Regions from separate parts of the Homo sapiens genome. Here regions 1 and 2 are each linked to region 3. Evidence: promoter capture Hi-C in 16 types of primary human blood cells and fetal thymus (Javierre and others, 2016). All regions are on one chromosome and are shown on one strand. The core of a region is centred on a gene start or on the middle of the fragment in contact, and the rest is flanking DNA. Distances in the headings are between cores, read along the strand shown. Region 1 overlaps NAV1 (neuron navigator 1). Region 2 overlaps NAV1 (neuron navigator 1). Region 3 holds the start of CSRP1 (cysteine and glycine rich protein 1).

The links. The method cuts DNA at HindIII sites, captures the fragments that hold promoters and counts their contacts. A CHiCAGO score of 5 or more calls a contact.
Region 1: a contact is called between a fragment that was not itself captured here and the fragment with the promoter of CSRP1 in region 3, in 1 of 17 cell types (megakaryocytes). The highest score is 5.2, in megakaryocytes.
Region 2: a contact is called between a fragment that was not itself captured here and the fragment with the promoter of CSRP1 in region 3, in 2 of 17 cell types (monocytes and megakaryocytes). The highest score is 7.7, in monocytes.

What each region holds. Positions count from the first base shown.
Region 1 is chr1:201,674,372-201,678,080 of GRCh38, forward strand. All of the region lies in intron 5 of NAV1 (neuron navigator 1), which reads left to right. Among named protein-coding and RNA genes, the nearest start is that of MIR5191, 43 kb to the right of the region's middle. The HindIII fragment of the contact is 211 bases long and covers 1,691-1,901 here.
Region 2 is chr1:201,715,858-201,719,445 of GRCh38, forward strand. It overlaps NAV1 (neuron navigator 1), which reads left to right. Exons shown (of 34, transcript NM_001389617.1): 7 at 2,533-2,898. All of the region lies in intron 2 of IPO9-AS1 (IPO9 antisense RNA 1), which reads right to left. Among named protein-coding and RNA genes, the nearest start is that of MIR5191, 1.9 kb to the right of the region's middle. The HindIII fragment of the contact is 283 bases long and covers 1,917-2,199 here.
Region 3 is chr1:201,505,624-201,509,300 of GRCh38, forward strand. It overlaps CSRP1 (cysteine and glycine rich protein 1), which reads right to left and starts at 1,500. Exons shown (of 6, transcript NM_004078.3): 1 at 1,447-1,500. CSRP1-AS1 (CSRP1 antisense RNA 1) reads left to right here and starts at 1,590. Exons shown (of 2, transcript NR_160747.1): 1 at 1,590-1,796. RefSeq lists a silencer at 1,202-1,831. The HindIII fragment of the contact is 16,293 bases long and covers 1-3,677 here.

The sequences.
Region 1 (3,709 bases), core at 546-3,045, 170 kb after region 3:
TCCTGGAATGAGTGTGTGTTGGGGGGGGTTGTCCAGGGCCCAGCCCAGGGCTTCTAAGAAATAGTCATTGCTGGTACCAGGAGCCCTCCTGGAGGCCCTCCAGCAAAACATGTATGTTAGGCCATTCTTGCGTTGCTGTAAAGAAATACCAGAGGCTGGATAATTTATTTAAAAAAGAGGTTTAATTGGCTCATGTTTCTACTGGCTGTATAGGAAGCATGGTGCAGGCATCTGCTCAGCCTTCAAAGGAGCCTCAGGGAGCATTTACTTATGGCAGAAGGTGAAGTGGGAGCAGGCTTGTCACATGGTGACAGAGGGAGCAAAAGAGAGAGTTGTGGGGGTAAGTGCCACACAATTTTAAATAACCAGATCTCACGAAAACTGGCTGGGCACGGTGGCTCACACCTGTAATCTCAGCACTCTGGGAGGCCGAGGTGGGCAGATCACTTGAGGCCAGGAGTTTGAGACCAGCCTGGCCAACATGGTGAAACCCAATCTCTACTAAAAATACACACACACATAGCTGGGTGTGGTGGCGCGCACCTGTAATCCCACCTACTCTGGAGACTGAGGCAGGAGAATTGCCCGAACCTGGGAGGTTGAGGGTGCAGTGAGCGGAGATCGCGTCACTGCCTGGGCAACAGAGTGAGACTCTGTCTCAAAAAAAAAAAAAAAAAGAACTCACTATGGCAAGGATGGCACCAAGCCATGAGGGATCCACTCCCATGACCCAAGCACTTCCCATCAGGCCCCACCTCTGACCTGGGGATGACCTTTCCACATGAGATTTAGAGGGAACGGCCTCCAGACTACACCAGGTACCAATCTGTCCACCACCATGTCACACCAACATGTCCTCCATTTCCTTGGTGAATGCTTGACAGTATCTTTCAGTGCCAAATCTGCTCCTTGACAAAACCATAAAAGCCACAAAGTTAATGTCCTACTGCTGCCTGTCCCCTGCTCCTGAGATCCCTGCCCCGGGATCCTCCATGCTTATCGTCTCCTTTCTGACCGGGCACTTCTTGTCACAAGGCCAGGGCTGGCCAGCCTCGTGTAACCTCAGCTTCCTCTTCACCATGGTAGAGAGATAAAAGTCCCTGCTTTTAGACAGTGCACTTAGCCTGCTCAAAGGAACTGCTCCATAAACACTACTATTACTTACCATTAACTTACAACAAAAAATGAACCAGGCACTTGGTAAGGTGTTTGTATTTTACTCATCCCAGAGGAATTTGCACATTTAAATATCGTCTCTTTCCCTCCATCTTCTTCCCCAAGTTACCTTTCCTGAAAGTGGGATGATGTTTAAAACAAAGCGATGGAATTTGAGGGGTACAACCCCTACAGTTCTGTCCAAATTCACTTCTCTAAACTCATGTTCTCCCTCCACTCCACCCTAAACCCTGGCCTCCTGAGGCAACGAAGTTTGCCTATCTGGAACCATTTTCTGAAGCTGGATGGCAGACGGGGAGCCTCAAGAGGGAAGAAAAGAATGGCAAACTTTTCATTGGCCCAGTGGCCGGCCTCATAAATCATCATTCATAATTAGAATTATTTATTCCCAAATCACCATCCCAAGCCCCAGTTTCCCCTGTACCTAAAGCTCTTTTCACTTCTAGTTCAAGAGAGTCTTGCCCCCTCTCTGCGTCTCAAAAGTGATCTCTTCTCTTCCTCTAAACTCACCTGAAGCTTTCACCAAGTATGCTGGCCGGTTCTGCTTCCTACCCTATTGCCTACCAAAAGGAGATAATTCCAGCCCCTCTTTCTGAGATAGGGTGTTAATGAATCCTTACTGAGGCACAGACCTCTGGCCTCCTGCAGAGAGGTCCTCCTGGAAGTGCCCTGGGGACTCTGGAGACCTGGCCTCCCAGCAGCCACTCCCTCTGCTTTTAAGAGGAAGCTTTAGCCTGAGAAAGTTTGACTCCTTCCTGAAAGCTGCACTTATTTCAGCCAGGCTGGGCTCAGGTTTCAGGGCTCAGGGACTCTTTCTCTCCCTTTCTCCTTCCCAAGACTGAAATGCAGCTGCCCAGAAGTGCTGAGGAGGACACAGAGTCGGCTTCCTAGGCACAGGCCCAGCTCTGTCCCCTTTCCTTGTGCTGGGACCTTCAGTGGAGGGGAGGAGTCAGGGAGCCTCAGGGAGGCAAAGCAGGCCACACAGCGAGGGAAGCGGCTGGGGAGAGCTGACTCGCAGGAAATAGTTTCACCCCAGTGGTCCAGGCTGGGGTTCCCGGTAGCTCCTCCACCATTCTCCCCGCAACACCCAACCAGCTCTGCTTTTAAAAGGTGAACACAATCTTTCAGAAGCTGCAGCCCAAGCCCTTTCTGGCCCTGGCGAACCTTCCCCATTCCCCTCTTGCCAAACATTTTTATACCAAAATAATTAGATAATTAATAATCATGTCAAATACTGTGTTTCTGGCACTCCATACTTTTTAAGCTTTGGAATCTGTGTGTAATAGATCTAAATAGCAGCCCACAAACTTGGCCAGGCAACAAACATCCCATTCTTGATTGTCTTTAAACCAATGTAATTCTACTTCTGAGCCCCTACCCTCCTGAGTGGCAAGACATTTCAAGTCAGAATTACTGGGGTCTGGTTGGGCGCGGTGGCTCATGCCTGTAATCCCAGCACTTTAGGCGGCTGAGATGGGTGGATCACTTGAGGCCAGGAGTTTGAGACCAGCCTGGCCAACATGGTGAAACCCTGTCTCTATTAAAAATACAAACATTATCTGGTTATGGTGGTGCGTGCCTGTAATCCCAGCTACCCAGGAGGCTGAGGCAGAAGAATCGCTTGAACTTGGTGGGTGGAGGTTGCAGGAGCCAAGACTGTGCCACTGCACTCCAGCCTGGGCGACAGATTGAGACTCCATCTCAAAAAAAAAAAAAAAAAAAGAATTGCTGGCGGCTGGCATCCTTTCCCCCAACCCCAGGCTCACCCCAGGTCCAGAAGGTCTGAGCAAAGCTTGGAAAACAGGAAAGGACCACTATGTTGTGATCCCTGCAAGTTTCCTCAGTGCCTCTCCAGTTCTGTGCCATGGGACATGGACTTCTTTGCCAAGGCCAGCAGCCTCTGCCCAATGTCCCTTCCTCCTGTTTACCCCACCCCGTCCCCCTCAGGGTGTGGGAATGCATCTGACTGCTTGCTCCTGGGACTCACGGTGCTTTTTTCATTTCTAGTTCAGGAGAGCCTTGCCCACTCTCTGCTTCTCAAAAGTGGTCTCTTCCCTTCCCCTAAACTCACCATCTTTTTTGTTTGTTTGTTTGTTTCATTTCTGAGATGGGGTCTCCAGCCCAGGCTGAAGTGCAGTGGCATGATCTCCGCTCACTGCAACCTTCGCCTCCCAGGCATGGGCGACACTCCCACCTCAGCTTCGTGAGTAGCTAGGAACATAGGCATGCGCCGCCACGCCTGGCTAATTTTTTTTATTTTTTGGTAGAGATGGGGTTTCACCATGTCACCCAGGCTGGTCTCAAACTTCTGAGCTCAAGCAGTTTGCCCACCTCGGCTTCCCAAAGTGCTGAGATTACAGGCGTGACCCACCATACCCGGCCAAACTCACCTTCCTAATAGCCTGAAGCTTTCACCAAACATGCTGCCCCATTCTGCTTCCTATTCTGTCCAATGTCCCCGAAGTTTAGAGTTTTGAAACCTGGTGACCTGCTCAGAATGGGAGCTGGGGAGTGGAATTACACAGAGGGAGGC
Region 2 (3,588 bases), core at 808-3,307, 210 kb after region 3:
ACTGTGGCTGGAGAGGAAATGAAACTGTGTCCTCCCCAGAGAAAGGCAAGCCTGAAGGGTGGGTGCAGGGCTGGAATTCAAGAACTGAGGATCTGAGCTAGAATCCCCCTCACCAAGCTTAAGTCTAGAGATGTCTAGAGATGTGTTTGGGGGAACTGAAAAAAAAAGAGAGAGCTGTGGAATAGGGGAAGAGGCAATTTTAGTACAAATAACTAAACAGGGGCAGGCCAGGAATAGAATTGAGGAACCCAGATGCTGAGTGCAGCCCTCACTCCCACACTAGTATATAACCATGGTGTAGGCTAACTACCCAAACCAGCTTCCCTGGAGATCCCCGCCACCCTCTTAGTATGGTTAGCATCATCCTCTTCCTCCCCTGTCTCATCCCATGGTCAAGGTCAGCTTGCTTTTATCAAGCACTTACTGCACAGGGCGCTGGACTGAGTTTTCTGATGAGAACTTCCTTGCTTTTTACTCACACATCCATCGTGGGTTTGCTCCTCTTTGATTCATTCTAGAGCACCAGCTCTAGGCCAGGTGCCATGCAAAGTGCTGAAATACCGTGGTGAGTGAGCAAGGCAGACAAAGTCGCACCATCACTACAGTCTCTGGCTTCGGGGCACATCGGTTTCTGTCCAAGGAGATGTGATGTCTAGGTCCACAGTAATTAGAAGCCGAAACAAGACACTGTATGAGGCAGAGCTGCAGAACACAAAGGGGTTCCTAAAGGGCTGCCAGAAGCAGGGTGCAGTGGCTCACGCCAGTAACCCCAGCACTGTGGGAGGCCGAGGTGGGAGGATTGCTTGAGTTCAGGAGTTCAAGACCAGCCTGGACAACATGGCAAAACCCCATCTCTATAAAAAATACAAAAATTAGCCAGATGTGCTCATGTGTGCCTGTCGTCCCTGCTACTTTGGGGCTGAGGCAGGAGGGTCACTTGAGCTCGGGAGGTCAAGGCTGCAGTGAGCCGTGTTTGCACCACTACACTCCAGCCTAGGCAACAGAGTGAGACCCTGTCTCAAAAATAAGTAAATAAGTAAAAAGAGTTGGCAGGGCCAGGAGGGGAGCCGCTGGGCATGGACACGGTCAGGAAGCCCTCCAGAGGGCCAGAAGCAGCTGCCACTGATTGCCCTGACTGGCCAGGGCCTCCCCCATCTTGCCCACAGGACTACTGCCAGGACCCCAGCACACTCAGTTTCAAGAGCGTTTGGATCCCTCAAGTTCTGCTGGTTAGAAAATAAGACCGTATTTTCTCAGGTCCAATAGAGACAACTTTGGAAATTTTTCTTCTTTTCAAGGAACTTGATAGAAACCAGAATGGAAAAATCAATGTCCCACTCCCATTCCAGCCCCCAAAGTGGCTAAGCAATGGATGTGTTCACAGAGCAGTGATTGCTTGGGCTCATGTAACTCATGTCCAGCCACAGATTGCCTCAGTTGCCCCAGCTTTCTTGGCCACCAAACCCCGTTTCGCTTACTTAGTCCTGTCTGGCTTAATTAGGATAAGTTATGGAGACCCTGCCTGAGGCTGATTTGGGCTGGCCCCACTGCTAGGCTAGATGGAATTATGGGTCTCAGCCTGAACCCAAGTCCAAGCCACCCCTTCAACCAGATTCCAGTTGTATTTCCTCTCTGCAGCCCGCCTGGCCCTATCTCCTTCCCTAGTCCCCCAGGTTCCCCTAGTCTCAGGCCATCCAGCACTCACCTGGGCATTGCTCCCTTGGCCTGGTCTAGCAGGGCCTGAGGCTTGAGACTCTGGACATTTGGCTTCACCCCCATGTCTGGTTCCCTGTGTCCTCTCCTTTGTCCAGTTAAGGCTGCTTCTATTCTCTGGGGAGGCTTATTTCCCCTGCTGCCCTAGGCCTGTGGCTTGGACCAGTCTTACTGGGGACCTGCCATACATCCCAGATTCCCAAAGCTTTTCCTATACTCTCTGCACTCTACTTCAGCTTTCCTATATATGATGTTTGGGAATCAGCTAGCCCTCAGCTAATTACTAGAAGAGAGGTGATGGACACACCATTAACAAAATGACCAAGGCCTTCTAAGCTCAAGTGACCAGTCTCTCCCACTTGCCTCCAGGTCTGTTGACCCCTTCCATATACCAGGCACTGTGTTCTGTCTGTACATATGTGATCCTTACAACTCTATAAGGTAGATGTTATGCCATTATCCCCATTGTACAGATGGGGAAACTGAAGCTTTAGTTATTTACTTTCCTTGGGCTCCTTTACTAACCAATACCAAAAAAGAATTCAAACCTAGGTCATATTACACAATCTAGGGTCTTAACAGTATACAGGATTTCTTCCCTAGCCACTTAATTAAGATCATTTCCTTTGTCAAACAGATAACGTATCACAAAGGTAACACACAACCAGAGGCCTCATGGAGGAGGTGGAGCTTGGGCAGGTGGGGAGGAGGTGACAGGGCCTGTGGGTGGAGGGGAGGCATTGCTGGGGTGCATGTGAGGGGACAGGGCACACGGCGGCTGTGCCAAGGACTAAGTAGTGCCTTCTGCTCTCCACCCAGCTCCCTGGAGATGACCTGCTACGACAGCGATGATGCCAACCCACGCAGCGTGTCCAGCCTCTCCAACCGCTCGTCCCCTCTGTCATGGCGCTATGGCCAGTCCAGTCCGCGGCTGCAGGCTGGTGACGCGCCCTCTGTGGGTGGGAGCTGCCGCTCGGAGGGGACGCCCGCCTGGTACATGCACGGCGAACGGGCCCACTACTCCCACACCATGCCCATGCGCAGCCCCAGCAAGCTCAGCCATATCTCCCGCCTGGAGCTGGTCGAATCCCTGGACTCGGATGAGGTGGACCTCAAGTCCGGCTACATGAGCGACAGTGACCTCATGGGCAAGACCATGACGGAGGATGATGACATCACTACCGGGTAAGCGCAGGGGCTTCTTGGATGGCGGGGGAGGATGGTGGAAAGACCACTGGGATGCGACGCCTTAAAAGTGGAGTGGAACCCAAAACGGGTTTTGGTTTGCTGTGCTGCTATGAAAGTACACAAAAGTGTGCTGTGTACACTTTGTGATTGCCTCTGAAATTCGATGTGGTTTATTCTAGACTTGGGTGTGGTGTAGGCAGGGCCTACATCCAAGGAGCTGATTGGTCAATGAAGGCGCCTCCCTCTCATTGGTCTCTGTGGCTGTCATTCTGTCACCCTCCTCCCTGGCTCTTTGCCCTCAATAAACTGGCTCAAAGAGCCTTGGAAAAGCATTTTATTCCCAGCTCTTATGCGAACTCTGTGTAGACCCTGGACAACTAAATCTGCTTTCCCATTTGCAAAAAAAAAAAAAACCAAAAAGGTTATTAACATCGTATCTGTCTACCTAAGAAGAGAAAATGAGAGCTTGTGGGTGAAATCGCTAGTCAAACAGTGAGTAGCAGCAGTAGCTCCACTTCCTTTGCCAGGGGTTCGTAACCCCTCAGTTCCCTATCCGACCCCTGTGGTCCTCAGTGTCTGCTCCTTGGGTTTCTTCCTGTGCAAACCTTCTACCAATCATGCAACTTCCTAATCCCTACCCAGCGTGTCAAATCCTTCTTTCCTGCCTTTTGCCCTGCAGGGACCCTC
Region 3 (3,677 bases), core at 250-2,749:
CTGCCTCCGCCCCGGATATCCTCTCCAAGGCAAAGAGTCATTCACTGGAAGACCGTGAGCAGGAGGAGGCTGGATTTAGGAAACAATGGGTAAAAGCTGCCCTCCAGCAGCTGAGGGCTGAGGACAGTCTCTCTCAAAAGAGGTAGCCAGAAACCAGCTGGAGAGTCAGGAGGCAGCAGTTGAGTGAGAGCAGTTGAGGGGAGGCTCAGTACCCATCCCCAAATCCCACCTGGGGAAAATCCCCAACATGCAGTCTGAGAGGACAGAGGGAGACAACCAGCACCTCCAGCCTCCTTAGCTTCTGGGAGGAAGGCAAGGGATGAGGGGAGGACAAGAAAGACAGTAACTGAGAGATCACTCCTGTGTTGGAGGTTCTGTGTAATATGCTCCCCAAGTAGCATCCCTGAAAGAAACTGAGACATTGAGAAGTTAAATAGTTTGTCCAAGGAAACCTGCGCGTTAAGTGGCAAATCCAAGAGTCAAAACTCTGCCTTCCAAACAATCCCACCAAGACTCCAAGCCACCTCTTCATGATATACTGATATACTTTCTACCAGGGCCCAGTGGATTTCCTCGGTGCCACTGTGATAGTATCCCAGCGTGGGGAGAGCCTGCCCATTCATTCACTCTCAGGGAGCAGCTGGTGGGTGGCTGGAGCCCAGGGCTCTAGGCAGAGCCTGAGCCCACTATTGCTCCAGCCGATTCCTGGGTCCTGGTTAGTTCACAACAGCACCAGAACCAGAAGCATGCAAAATATTCTCTAGTCTGTACCAGTAGATACAATACCTGCCTCAGAGGGCTGATTGTTAGCTAACACATTGTGATTTGCTTTAAATGTGCTCAATACCAGCCCCTTTATCACTTCCCAGCTTTCAAGGACTGAGGCCACAAAACACTGACTGCAGGCTCTTTCAGGTTTCAGTAACCATCACCACCTAGCACCAAGATTTGGAGTGGAGAGGTTTCCATGCAGTTATTTCACAAGAGGGAAAACTCACACCTGCGCTCAGGGACACAGATGTCCAAGGTCAGGCCCAGATGTTTGCCCCACCCCGCCCGCGGGCATTTTCTCCCCAGCAGGAGGGTGAGGGAGGGGGTGGCACGGATGCCCTCATCTCTCTGCCATACAATGAGCGTCAGTGGCGCGCAGAATCGCCGATTGTTCTGCCCGACTTGCAGGCGGTTGCGGGGAGCCGGGTCGCCCTGGGTCACGCACACGCGGAAGTCAACTGTGTCCAGGAAGCCCAGGAAGGCCCGGGATGGGGACGGACCTAGTGCCTCCAGAAAAGAGCAGCACTGCCCGGGCTAACTGCGGTCACTTCTCACAGTTCCCCGCCTGCGACAGCCCCGGGGCTGCGGCGGGGCTGGCAAGACCGGGAGGCGCTGAGTGCGTGCCCAGGCGCCCCTCCGCGGCGGGCAGAGCCGCGCGACTCAGGGCGCACTCACCTGGCAGCTGGCTCGGCGGCGCAGGGGCGGCAGGCGCTCTCGGAAGTGGCGGCTGGGTGCGCCCGGCCTGCGCGCCGTTTTGTTCCGCTCCGCGGAAGGCGTGTCCCGGGCCACGCCAACCAGTGGGCTTTGCACACTGCACCACTCCAGGGCTGATGTCATGGCGCGAAGCCCGGCGGTGCTGCCCTCCTAGGCCCCGGGAAGGCCGGCCGGCAGGGGCGGGGGCAGGAGTCGCCGACTCTGGGGGTGCTCCGAGCTCGTGCTGCGGTCCCACTGTGCGCCCTGTCGCCGCCACCGCGGAAAACGTCTTGCACGTGCGAGGGGCATTTCAGGAGTTTCCTGTCTGTCAGGTGAGAAGGCGGAGATATGACCTTAGAGGTCAGACCCATGATAAACTTGAGCCCCTAACGAAAGGGTGTCTCGAATTTACTTGTCCTGGTGGCAGAGGGTGAGGGACACATTTTGGGCGCCAGGGTAAGACAGACCCTTCCAGGGCAGGTCTGATTCTGCCCATCCACTCACTAGCTGGGCCCTGGGCCTAGACAGCCCTTCTGGGTTCAGGGTCATCTGTGAACGGCGTGTAATCTACAGGGATGTGAGGGGCTAAAAGGAGATCCGGTAGGACCCGCAGACCTTCAGCAGCACCCGGCATGTAATAGACACTCAATAAATGTAACTCCCCCCTCCAACAGCTCTTGCCCCTCAGTTTTTCCCAGTCTTCCCTGCTACCCTAAGGACAACACCTGGAAAAAGGTGTTCTCCCGCAAAAGCAGCAGTTCTGAAAAGTGGGTGCCTCCATAGAGGCTTTTCTCTGGGGCTCCAACCTTCAGTAGGACAGACACAGGCTCAGGCCACTCAAGCTGCCCCTGGGGCAGTTTCCAGGGGACATTCTGTCCACACCTCCTCACCCAGTCCCCAGCCCTTCCTGAGTGCCCCGTGCAGGCATTTCAGGGAGCAGAGAAGCTCACAGCCTCCAGCTGGTCACCCTACACCCCAGGTGGCCCATAGATGCAGCTGCTATGTCTTCCACCCTGGGCAGGTGTCAAGGGTTCAGGCCCCAACCGGCTTCACTTAAAGCCCTGGTTTGCTGAATCAACTTTTTGCCAGGAATAAAGTTAAGCATCTTATGATCTAGAAAATGAAGTATTTGGCCAGGCACTGTGGCTCACGCCTGTAATCCCAACACTTTGGGAGGCCGAGGCAGGCAGATTGCTTAAACCCAGGAGTTCGAGACCTGGTGAAACCCTGTTTCTACAAAAAAATTAAAAAAATTAGCCAGGCGTGGTGGTGTGTGCCTGTAATCCAAGCTACTCGAGAGGCTGAGGTGGAAGGATCACTTGAACTCAGGAGGCAGAGGTTGCAGTGAGCCAAGATTGCACCACTGCACTCCAGCCTGGGCGACAGAGCAAGAGTGTTTCTCAAAAAAAAAAGTGTTTATCTAGGTTTTTCTTGCTTTCTACCATAAGTAACATCTTTCCTTTGGCCAGGTCCATCCTATAAACAAGGCCCTCCAAGATTAAAATGTCTAGAAGCACACAACCAGTGTTTCTTGCAGATTGGGCCATCTTCATCTGACCCAACCAAGATGAAGGAGGAGAAACCAGAAGAATTTCTGGTCACGGCTGCACTGACTAAGCAATAGTTAAACAGGTCCATTAAACTGCAGAACCACCATCAGTGTCAGAGACCAAGGGCTTCCGCCCAAAGATGGCGATCCCATGGGATTTCCCCCTCTCCTTTCAATTCTCAGTATCTTGGAGAGATGAGCCTCGGAGTTTTGCCCAGGATTTTACAAAAGGGCAAACTCCTACATTACCTTCTTTGGTCTGGGTTTGTCCTCTCTGGAGTCATGGGACTGTTGATAGATTTCCCTGTGAGGACATGCCAACCTGTGCTGTGAAATGGCTTTAGGGTAGATCCAGAAAAAGAAGAGCAGTCACTGCAGTCACACTTGGATTTCTCCCAGATCTTAAAGCACCTTATAAACAGAATGGCTGTACAATGTGTCATCTAAACCAGAATGCTTTGGATAGTAAGTGGTATGTGGTAGTATTCGTAACTACACTAAGGCAACAGGACTATCTCAGGCAGTCCAGGGCAGATGGTCACCCCTCTTTTCCACCCAAAGACTGTCAGGTCACTTGTCTTAGGAGCTGTCTACGCAGAGCTACAGATGAAGCCAAGTAGGACCTGCCTTGTTTGGTGTTTTTCCAGAACCTCTCACCTTCTGA